Linked DNA regions of Homo sapiens: all the other regions are linked to region 2. Evidence: promoter capture Hi-C in 16 types of primary human blood cells and fetal thymus (Javierre and others, 2016). All regions are on one chromosome and are shown on one strand. The core of a region is centred on a gene start or on the middle of the fragment in contact, and the rest is flanking DNA. Distances in the headings are between cores, read along the strand shown. Region 1 overlaps RND1 (Rho family GTPase 1). Region 2 holds the start of FKBP11 (FKBP prolyl isomerase 11). Region 3 holds the start of DDN (dendrin).

The links. Contacts are between HindIII fragments. The CHiCAGO score rates a contact against its expected background, and 5 or more counts as called.
Region 1: a contact is called between a fragment that was not itself captured here and the fragment with the promoter of FKBP11 in region 2, in 7 of 17 cell types (total CD8 T cells, total CD4 T cells, naive CD4 T cells and 4 more). The highest score is 8.0, in total CD8 T cells.
Region 3: the fragment with the promoter of DDN here is called in contact with the fragment with the promoter of FKBP11 in region 2 in 6 of 17 cell types (naive B cells, total B cells, erythroblasts and 3 more); the score reaches 7.0 in naive B cells.

Annotation. Positions count from the first base shown.
Region 1 is chr12:48,855,399-48,859,336 of GRCh38, reverse strand. It overlaps RND1 (Rho family GTPase 1), which reads left to right. Exons shown (of 5, transcript NM_014470.4): 5 at 1,096-2,192. The coding sequence ends at 1,341. Among named protein-coding and RNA genes, the nearest start is that of DDX23, 5.2 kb to the right of the region's middle. RefSeq lists an enhancer at 1,739-1,808. The HindIII fragment of the contact is 7,230 bases long and covers 1-3,938 here.
Region 2 is chr12:48,924,088-48,927,462 of GRCh38, reverse strand. FKBP11 (FKBP prolyl isomerase 11) reads left to right here and starts at 1,971. Exons shown (of 6, transcript NM_016594.3): 1 at 1,971-2,163; 2 at 2,352-2,417; 3 at 2,815-2,902; 4 at 3,207-3,240. The coding sequence starts at 2,035. RefSeq lists enhancers at 1,606-1,705, 2,966-3,025. The HindIII fragment of the contact is 4,966 bases long and covers 1-2,821 here.
Region 3 is chr12:48,997,638-49,001,130 of GRCh38, reverse strand. It overlaps DDN (dendrin), which reads left to right and starts at 1,756. Exons shown (of 2, transcript NM_015086.2): 1 at 1,756-2,052; 2 at 2,465-3,493. The coding sequence starts at 1,844. DDN-AS1 (DDN and PRKAG1 antisense RNA 1) reads right to left here and starts at 2,784. Exons shown (of 2, transcript NR_147179.1): 1 at 2,441-2,784. RefSeq lists enhancers at 1,091-1,385, 3,055-3,124 and silencers at 1,531-1,825, 2,475-2,934, 3,485-3,493. The HindIII fragment of the contact is 4,772 bases long and covers 1,203-3,493 here.

The sequences.
Region 1 (3,938 bases), core at 496-2,995, 68 kb after region 2:
GAACTCCTGACCTCAGGTGATCCACCTGCCTTGGCCTCCACTGCACCTGACCTGGGGAGCTCTTAAGAATACTAATACCGGCCAGGCGCGGTGGCTCACGCCTGTAATCCCAGCACTTTGGGAGGCTGAGGCGGGCAGATCACAAGGTCAGGAGATCAAGACCATCCTGGCTAACATGGTGAAACACCATCTCTACTAAAAATACAAAAAATTAGCCAGGCGTGTTGGCGGGTGCCTGTAGTCCCAGCTACTCGGGAGGCTGAGGCAGGAGAATGGTGTGAACCCGGGAGGCAGAGCTTGCAGTGAGCCGAGATCGCGCCACTGCACTCCAGCCTGGGCAACAGAGCGAGACTGTTTCAAAAAAAAAAAAAAAAGAAAAGAAAGAAAAAGAAGAATACTAATGCCTTGGCTCTATACCCAGAATTTTTTTTTCCTTTTCCTTTTTTTTTTTTTTTTTTTTCCAGAGACAGGGTCTTACTCTGTCACCCAGAATGAAGTGCAGTGGTGTGATCCTAGCTCACTACAGTGCAGAACTCCTGGGCTCAAGGGATCCTCTCTAGTATTTGAGACTATAGTTGTGTGCCCACTTCCAGTGAATTTTTAAACATTTTTTAAAAGTGTTTATTATTATTTTATTATCTTTATTTTTGAGATTTATTTTTGTAATTCCAAAGCGCTGGGATTATGGGTGTAAGCCACCGCGCCCGGCCACCTAGGCTGGTCTTGAACTCCTGGCCTCCTCAAGTGATCCTCCCATCACAGCCTCCTGAGTAGCTGGGATTAGAGGCACTAGCCACTGCCCCAGCTATCCCCAGAAATTCTAATTTAGTTTGGCATCAATATAGTTTTAAGAGTATTCCAGATGATTTATAATGTGCAGTCAGGCATCGTCTTAAGAAAAAGAGGCATCATCAGACAGGGTGTATGCCAAAAAAAAAAAAAAAAAAGAAAAGATAATCGAATAATCTGCAGAGGGTGGTGTTTGGAGACTGGCAGCTGGGTCCCCTCTGGAGTGGCCCTGGGGAGTGACGCACAGAGGCAGCGTCCCAGAGCCATTTTGGCCCACTGCATTAATGCCCTCACCCCCTCCTGCAGGGTTGTGCAATAGCAAAGCAGCTGGGTGCAGAAATCTACCTGGAAGGCTCAGCTTTCACCTCAGAAAAGAGCATCCACAGCATCTTTCGGACGGCATCCATGCTGTGTCTGAACAAGCCTAGCCCACTGCCCCAGAAGAGCCCTGTCCGAAGCCTCTCCAAACGACTGCTCCACCTCCCCAGTCGCTCTGAACTCATCTCTTCTACCTTCAAGAAGGAAAAGGCCAAAAGCTGTTCCATTATGTGAAGTGGAAATTGGAGGGGGGAGACAACCCCCTACTTCCTCCCTTGGGGTGCAGAGGCACGGGGAGAGGGAGGATGAGACAATTTAGGACACTGGACATGAGTTTTTCAGATGGCCACGGTGAGGGCTTGGAAGGAGACAGGAATGGGGCGAGGAAGGAGCCAGGCCCGGCATGAGGACCTGACGCTGAGAGAGAACCATCATACCCCAAGCCAGGCACTAGATTTTGGAGGGGGCGACTACCCCAGTGCCCCCCCCGCTCCAGAGGAAGGAAAGCTGTGGGGGACGGGGGGCATGCTGGCCTCATGGGCTTGGGGGCCTACAGCAGCCTCACCTTCAGCTTCATGCCTCTTCCACACAGCGTTTCCATGCAGGTCAGGGGATGGGAGGGGTCCCTGAGCCCTTCCCTTCCCCTCTAAGGAGGCAGCAACGGAGAGTGGGGAAGTGGAGCGGCAGCTCCCTTGGGGGCTTAGCCCAGGTGCTTCGTAACTGCAATCGGAAGTGCAGGAGCTGGTCAGAGCCAATGAGAAGGAAACCTCATCTTTGCATAGCCCATGCCTCATGGAGAGGTGACATCATACATTCACATGCTTCTCACCTAAGTCCCCAGGGTCCAAGGGAGAAGCCCCAGACCCCCTTCTCTTGCAGAGTGTGGGGGTGGTGGTGCTGCAGGGGCAGGGCTGGGTGGGGGTCACCAGACTTTTTCTGCCCTTAGGGTAGTACAGCTGGCATTTGTTTTATAGACTCTTGTCTTTGGAATTGGGGGGAGGGGGGGAGTGTTTCAATCTGTTATATGTTCTGTGTTTAATGAAGAAAACCTATTTATTAATGAAAAATATAATACATATAAAGAATTTGGCTCCGTATTTTTTTCTGTTTTCTTTAGTTGTTACAATTGGTATTTTTTTTTTTTGGTCTTTTTTTTTTTTCCTTTTTGTGGAGAACAGGGTCTCGCTATATTGCTCAGGCAGGTCTCAAACTCCTGGGCTCAAGCTATCCTCACATCTCTGCCTCCCTAAGAGCTGGGATTACAGGCATGAGCCACCGTGCTTGAGCCCTTTGGTTGATGATAATGAGAGAAAAGCTGTCCTGGGACCCTTTCTGTGGGTTGCAGAGGGGCTGCCTCCACCATTCCCCAGCTCCTCCAAGAAGGAGCTTCTCTCTTCCCCCATCCCCCTGCCCTAGCCCCACCCAAGACCTACTAAACCAAGGAAGGGCTCCTTAGCCCGAGAGCAGGGGTGCAGGGGTTCTCAACCCTGGAACTATTGACATTTTGGACTGGATAATGCTTTGTTGTGAGGGACTGTCCTATGCAGCCCAAGATGTTTAGCAGTGTCCCTGATCTGGTGGATGCTAGAAGACAGCACCCCACTCTCCAGCTATCACACCCAAAAATGTCTCCAGACGTTGCTAAATGGCCCCTGTGGAAAAATTCTGGTTGAGAACCACTGCCCTGGAGAGTCTAGAGGAGAGAAAAAGGTTGGATGAAATCATCAGTAGAGGATCCAAGCTGCTGAGATTCCACCCCACATAGAAGGTGGACAGACTAAGCCAAAGCTGGGGGAGGCTCCTGGGATTCTGGTCTCCTCTGAGTTCAAGGAGAGGTGACATTTGCCTTCATGACCTTCCAATTCCGATGCCTACTGATGGCAGCTCAGGGGCCTTAACTCTTAACTTCCTTTCTCAGTGACTTATAGCTCTTGTTTTCCAAGTGCCATAGTGTAGTGCTAGTGCCAGAAATAAAGTTAGCATGTACTAGGCCAGGCGCGGTGGCTCAAGCCTGTAATCCCAGAACTTTGGGAGGCTGAGGCAGGTGGATCACAAGGTCGGGAGATCGAGACCATCCTGGCTAACACGGTGAAACCCCATCTCTACTAAAATACAAAAATTAGCCGGGCATGGTGGCACGTGCCTGTAATCCCAACTACTCGGGAGGCTGAGGCAGGAGAATCGCTTAAACCCGGGAGGCAGAGGTTGCAGTGAGCCAAGATTGCGCCACTGCACTCCAACCTGGGCAAAAGAGGGAGACTCCATCTCTAAATAAATAAATAAATAAATAAAGTTAGCATGTACTTAATGAGTGTTCAGCACTGTGCACTGTGTTGAGGGCTTTACATGATCACATTTAGACTCATAAATGATAAGAGCTAACATTTGTTAAATGTTTACTATGGGTCGGGGCACTTACGAGATTTTTCTTTTTTTTTTTTTGAGACAGGGTCTCACTCTGTCGCCCACGCTGGAGTACAGTGGCATGACCACTGCTCACTGCAACCTCACCCTCCTGGTTCACCGTCCTGATCACCCTCCTGACCCTCCTACCTCAGCCTCCTGGGTAGCTAGGACTACAGGAGTACCACAGTAGTAGTCTATTTTTTGTGGAGATGGGGTTTCACCATGTTGCCCAGGCTGGTCTTGAACTTCTGGGCTCAAGTGATCCTCCTGCCTCGGCCTTCCAAAGTGCTGGGATTACAGGCATAAACCATGGTGCCCGGCCCCACTTACGAGTTCTTTCTATGTTATTTATTCCTGTGATAACCCTATGAGCCTATGAGGTGCTATTTTTTTTTTTTTAGACGGAGTTTCACTCTGGCTGGAGT
Region 2 (3,375 bases), core at 722-3,221:
CAGTTTGATAAGTTCTGACAAATGCATACACCCATGTAACCCACATCCTTCTGAAAATATAGAGCATTTCATCACCCCTAGAAATTCCCTCCTGCTGAGGGGACTTTTTTTTTTTAAACAATACAAATGAGAGATAATGAAGGCTTCTTATCCTGAGGTGGGAGGGTTGTAGCTATGGGAATGGAAGGGAAGAGCTGGAGAGACTTTGGAAGGAGAATCCAGAGTAGACCCGTTGGATGTGGGAGATGAGAGAAGAACGAATGCTGGTAGCAGAGCCACTAACAGAAACAGGAGATAGGGAGGAAGTCTAGGTTGTTGCAGGTGGATTGGAAGAATGAGTACAGTTAAGACTGTTGGCTGGGCGCATTGGCTCACGCCTGTAATCCCAGCACTTCGGGATGCTGAGGCTGGCGGATCACGAGGTCAGCAGTTTGAGAGCAGTCTGGCCAACATGGCGAAACCCCATCTCTACTAAAAATACAAAAATTAGCCAGGCGTGGTGGTGGGTGCCTATAATCCCAGCTACTCGGGAGGCTGAGAGAAAAGAATCGCTTGAACCCGGGAGGTGGAGGTTGCAGTGAGCCAAGATCGTGCCATTGCACTCCAGCCTGGGCGACAAGAGTGAAACTCCGTCTCAACAAACAACAACAACAAAAACTTTTAAAAAGTGGGCTGGGCGTGGTGGCTCATACCTGTAATCCCAGCACTTTGGAAGGCCGAGGTGGGTGGATCACTTGAGGTTGGGAATTCGAGACCAGCCTGACAGACATGGAGAAACCCTGTCTTTACTAAAAATTCAAAATCAGCTGGGCATGGTGGCGCATGCCTGTAGTCCCAGCTACTCGGGAGCAGAGGTTGCGGTGAGCCAAGATCGCGCCATTGCACTCCAGCCTGGGCAACAGGAGCAAAACTCCTCCCCCTCAAAAAAAAAAAAAAAAAAAGAAATCTGGTGGCTCACGCCTGTAATCCTAGCACTTTGAGAGACCGAGGCAGGCGGATCACCTGACATCAGGAGTTTGAGACCAGCCTGGCCAACATGGTGAAACCCCTTATCTACTAAAAATACAAAAATTAGCCGGGCGTGGTGGCGGGTGTAATCCCAGCTACTTGGGAGGCTGAGGCAGGAGAATCGCTTGAACCTGGGAGGCGGAGGTTGCAGTGAGTGGAGATGGCACCACTGCACTCCAGCCTGGGCCACAGAGCGAGACTCCATCTCAAAAAAAAAAAAAAAAAAAAAAGTGAAGTCTTTACATAAATGGATTACGTGTGCTGCCCTTTGAGAAGTTTGTTGATGAAAGGAGAAAGGAAATAGTAGCACCAGAGGAAAAGATCAGGGATTTACCCTGTTCTTACAGGATAACAGCTCCTTGCTCTTTTCAGCTAGCTTTTCAAAGGACAGGGATAGGACAGCCCCCTGCCTTATTTCGGATACTTGGATCTATAACCTCCAGAAATTCAAGCTGAAGTAGCTGGAGGTCGGAGAGGAATGAGAACTGCCTGGGTGGGGTCTGCCAGCCAGACACTGCCAGGATAGCCACAAGGAGACGACTTGGAAGAACAGACAGCAACCACGTTGGACTCAGGCAGTCCTGGGTTTGAATCCTGTCTCTGTCACCACCTAGCCTGATGACCTTGGGCACATCCTGAGCACCCTGTGCCTTATCTGTAAAATGGAAACAATCATGCCGACCTTTCAGGGTGGTTTTGAGGATTAGAGACTAGCTCCTGACACACAGTAGGTAATCGTAAATGGGTGCTATTGTTTGGCCCGACCCACGTTATAGGACAGAACGTCTAACGGATGCGTCAGAACCTGCGCCCTCCGGATCTTGGAGGGTACAGAGGGCGCCCCTCGGCCTCCTCCCTTTCGGAGGTGGGGACAAGGTGGAGGAAGGGCTGCAGGAGGAGGAGCTCTAGCATCGCGACCCGCCCCGTCCCGTCCAGTCTGGCCTGGGCGCCGCGGGAACGCTGTCCTGGCTGCCGCCACCCGAACAGCCTGTCCTGGTGCCCCGGCTCCCTGCCCCGCGCCCAGTCATGACCCTGCGCCCCTCACTCCTCCCGCTCCATCTGCTGCTGCTGCTGCTGCTCAGTGCGGCGGTGTGCCGGGCTGAGGCTGGGCTCGAAACCGAAAGTCCCGTCCGGACCCTCCAAGTGGAGACCCTGGTGAGGAGATAGTCCCGACCCTCAGCCCCCGTGGGCCGAGCCTTGTTGGGTGGTAATACTGGGGTCTCAGCGAACCTGGGAGCCGGGAGGAGAGGAAGTGCGGGAACTGAGTTGGGGGTGGTGCCGGGTCTAGGGGCGAGAACGGGATCTTTGGAAGAGCATCCGTGACCCCTGTAGTCCGATCGTAGGTGGAGCCCCCAGAACCATGTGCCGAGCCCGCTGCTTTTGGAGACACGCTTCACATACACTACACGGTGAGGGGTCTGGGGGGCCGGGGCGGGGCCTGGGAGGGGGCGGCGCCCTGCTGAAACACGTCAGCTTTGGCTTGGACACGTGGCAAGCGGTTCGGGAGAAGAAACTCGGGGCTCTGGGGTCGTCGAGCACGTGGCGAGGGGAGAGACGTTGCTCTTCCGTGCCTCTTTTCCCTCCTTGCTTTTCTGCCAGTTCCTACCTGGCACGGAGAAGTGCAGGGTGGAGAGATCTCCGAGAAGCGCCAGCCTTCTGGGGCTTCCTGTTCCTTACAGCGGTAAGGGGAACGCTAGGCTGCCGCACTAAGGGGGCTGCCGCCGCCCAGCGGTCCAGGTGTGTGTTGCGCGCCTGCTGGGAGGGAGAGGGTGCTAGATGTATGCTCTTGATGCTCTCTCCCCCCAGGGAAGCTTGGTAGATGGACGTATTATTGACACCTCCCTGACCAGAGACCCTCTGGTTATAGAACTTGGCCAAAAGCAGGTGATTCCAGGTATGTGACCTGTGCCTCCCATTCCACCTCTTCCCAACCTAAGCCCTTTCTTAGCCTCTTCGGCTCCAAAGCTGCCCTGGAAATCCCCCCTGAAATGAGTAAGACCCTAGGGCTCTACGAGTTACCTCCTGAGGTTCAAACCTCACTTCTAGTACTCCACTTGTCCCATATCCTATTGGAAGCCAGAGATTTAAGAAGTGAGGGAAAGGTCAATTGAGGATGGAGGAGGAAGACTTTGATCTTCATGTCATGGGATTTGGGGAAGGTGGATAGCTTCCAGTTCAGTTGTGTCTTCTTCTTCAAGGTCTGGAGCAGAGTCTTCTCGACATGTGTGTGGGGTGAGTATCTCGGCAGGGGTGGGCCTGGGTACCCCCTTTGCATGGGTAGAGGCTTTCTCGGCCATCCTCACTCCTTAAGCAGGAGAATGTGGAATAAAGGACCCTGCTTCCCACTGGACAGGTCCAGGTCAGTGG
Region 3 (3,493 bases), core at 507-3,006, 74 kb before region 2:
CCTCATTAAGGAAGATTTGCCTAGGGAGGAGGCAAGGGCTTTAAAAAGCCTCAGGACTCTAGTGGGACCTAGGGTGGAAGGAAGCATCTTCGAGTCAAGTCATCAGTGCAGCTGGCAGGTGTGTGGAATCAAGGGGGGTAGGGTGGATGGGACGGGATGTTTGCGTTCTCTCTAAAGGTTTGTGTTAGGGAGCAGAGACCTGGTTTTGTTGAGTTGTTTCTCAGTCTGTCAGTCTCTGCCCCACAACCTTTCTGGTTGTTCCCCATCCCCTTAAAAGGAAGGGTCTGGACCCAAAGGGCTCCATGTACATTAGTGGAAAACTAATTGGGAACTCTTGCTTCTCCCATTTCCCTCTAAAACCCAACCTATCCGTCTCAGTGTGAGGATGAAGCTGAGGGAGAGACAAGGGATGAAATTTGGGAGACTCACAAGCTTCTATTCTTACCTATTCCTCTCCAGAGAGGCAAATTATCCCTTCTTCCCGAGGAACCATGCCCCACACACTCTCCCCTCTCTCTGCACTGCTCCCCTCCACTGAAGCTGCTGCCATGGTTGCCAGGCATGGTTGCTAAGTCTCTGCATGGAAGGGTTGGCGTGGGCTGTGCTGCCACTAACATTACCATGGTGAATCAGGGGACACCTGGTATAAGCTTAGGAGGAGGGATCATGTGGATATAAGCAACAGCCCCCCAGGACAGAGGCAGCCCAAAAGGTGAGCATCTGGAGCACCACTTAAGGTGGGGACTGAGTGAACTAGGCATTGTGGTGGTGGTGAGGGGGAGTTCTACATTGAAAAAAATAAAGGCCACTTTTATCATTTCAGTTGCTAGGGGATTAGTTTTGCCAAGCAAACACATCATTTCTCCTCCATCCCCCTCTGGAAGGGTGAGAGTGCATAAGCACTTACTCTGTCCTCCATAAAGCTGGGCAGGCTGTGTGGGCACAGAACAATATAACCCCCAAATCCTGGCTTCTGGATTGGAGGTGAAAGCCTGCTGCTGTGGGAGGGCTCCCTGGCTGCCCAAGGACAAACATGTAGAATGGAACTGGTAGGGCAGCTTGGGTGGCCAAGGCAGACGCCTGTGTCCTGCTGTACCAGCAGTCCTAGGCTGCAGCACTGAGCTGACAAGGAGATACGGGTGTAGGGGTCACCCTTTTTGAGCTTAGGGAAGGCAGCTCTCCCTCAGAGTCGCACAAAAGCTTGGTAAAAGCCACCGCCTCCTCTCTCCACCGCATGGGAGCTGGTTACTCATCTCATCTCTGCACCCGAACAGCCACTGCCGCTAAAAATAGCCCCCCAGCCGTGGGCCAGCCCCTCCTGCACCCCAGCCCCATGGAAACCAGCAGAGTGGCAGGCAGAGACCTTGAGTTCCAATCTCATCACTCTATGTTGGGGAAACTGAAATCTGAGGCAGGAAGCCAGGGGCAGAACCCTGGTGGTCAGGCAACCTGACAAGCAGGAGAGTAAAGGGTTAAAACGGCAGGAAGGTTGAAGAAATAGGGGCGGGGGAGGGGGCACTGTCAGCTTGGCAAGAATCATAAGTCCCTCCCCCGCCCACTCGTGCGATCCCATCAGGCTTGGGGGACAACAGCAGTGGGAAGGGGCGTCCAATCCCGGGCCCCAGGGGGCGGCCGTGCACATGGGGGAGGTAGCAGCGCGGAGCAGTCCGCGCGGTGTCACATGCGCGCGCACACACAGAGACAGGCACACACACGTGTGCCCGGGTATATATAGTTCCCAGTCCCCGGGCCCGCGGCTCTGCAGTGGGCGCCGGCTCCCTGGGCTGGGAGGGGGCTCCTGGGGCGGGTGGGAGGGTGGGGGGCCGGGGTGGGGTGGGGCAGGATGCTGGATGGCCCACTGTTCTCCGAGGGGCCTGACAGCCCCCGGGAGCTCCAGGATGAGGAGTCTGGCAGCTGCCTCTGGGTGCAGAAGTCCAAGCTATTGGTGATAGAAGTGAAGACTATTTCCTGTCATTATAGTCGCCGCGCCCCTTCTCGACAGCCCATGGACTTCCAGGCCAGCCACTGGGCTCGCGGGTTCCAGAACCGCACGTGAGTGAAGCAGGGGTGAGGGGAAGAGAGTGGTGGGGCGGGGAGTGGGGTCCGGACCTCCCCGCAGGCACCAGCGAGCACTGCTGGTCCCCCTTCTCTTTCCCACGCCTTCCACCTCTGCCCGCTCCCGAGGGCTGGGGCCTGACTCATCCCGTTGTTTGGGGGAACAGAAGTGGGTGTGAGAAAGGGCAGGAGGTGAGATGGGGCAGACGCTGTTAAAGTGTGCATGGAGAGATGGCGAGGAGTCCCGCTTCGACTTCAGTCCTAACATATACGCACGTGCACACGCGCACACACTCACACACACCCCTTCACATGGCTGCCCCAAGTGGTCTCCAGTGCTCCCAGCTCCCCGGACCTCGGCTCCCTTCCCCCACAAACTGCTCACCTGGGTTCCTGCTCATTGTCCCAGGTGTGGGCCGCGCCCGGGATCCCCACAGCCGCCGCCCCGCCGGCCCTGGGCCTCCAGGGTGCTGCAGGAGGCGACCAACTGGCGGGCGGGGCCCCTGGCCGAGGTCCGAGCTCGGGAGCAAGAGAAAAGGAAAGCGGCGTCGCAGGAGCGGGAGGCCAAGGAGACCGAGCGAAAAAGGCGCAAGGCTGGTGGGGCCCGACGGAGCCCCCCGGGTCGACCCCGCCCGGAGCCCCGCAACGCCCCTCGGGTGGCCCAGCTGGCAGGGCTCCCTGCTCCCTTGCGGCCGGAGCGCCTGGCGCCTGTGGGGCGAGCGCCCCGTCCATCCGCGCAGCCGCAGAGCGACCCAGGGTCGGCGTGGGCGGGGCCCTGGGGAGGTCGGCGGCCCGGGCCCCCAAGCTACGAGGCTCACCTGCTGCTGAGAGGTTCTGCCGGGACCGCCCCACGACGCCGCTGGGACCGGCCGCCACCCTACGTGGCTCCACCTTCTTACGAAGGCCCCCATAGGACCTTGGGGACTAAGAGAGGCCCCGGGAACTCTCAGGTGCCCACTTCATCAGCCCCAGCTGCGACTCCAGCCAGGACAGACGGAGGGCGCACAAAGAAGAGGCTGGATCCTCGGATCTACCGGGACGTCCTCGGGGCTTGGGGTCTCCGACAGGGGCAAGGTCTCTTGGGGGGATCCCCAGGCTGTGGAGCGGCCAGAGCAAGGCCAGAGCCCGGCAAGGGGGTCGTGGAGAAAAGCCTGGGGCTGGCTGCTGCTGACCTGAACAGTGGTAGCGACAGCCATCCCCAAGCCAAAGCTACAGGGAGCGCAGGCACCGAGATAGCTCCTGCGGGGTCTGCAACTGCGGCTCCCTGTGCCCCGCATCCCGCTCCCAGATCCAGGCACCACCTCAAGGGCTCGAGGGAAGGGAAAGAAGGAGAACAGATCTGGTTTCCCAAATGCTGGATTCCCTCCCCTAAAAAGCAGCCGCCCCGCCATAGCCAGACACTCCCCAGACCCTGGGCTCCCGGAGGCACCGGATGGAG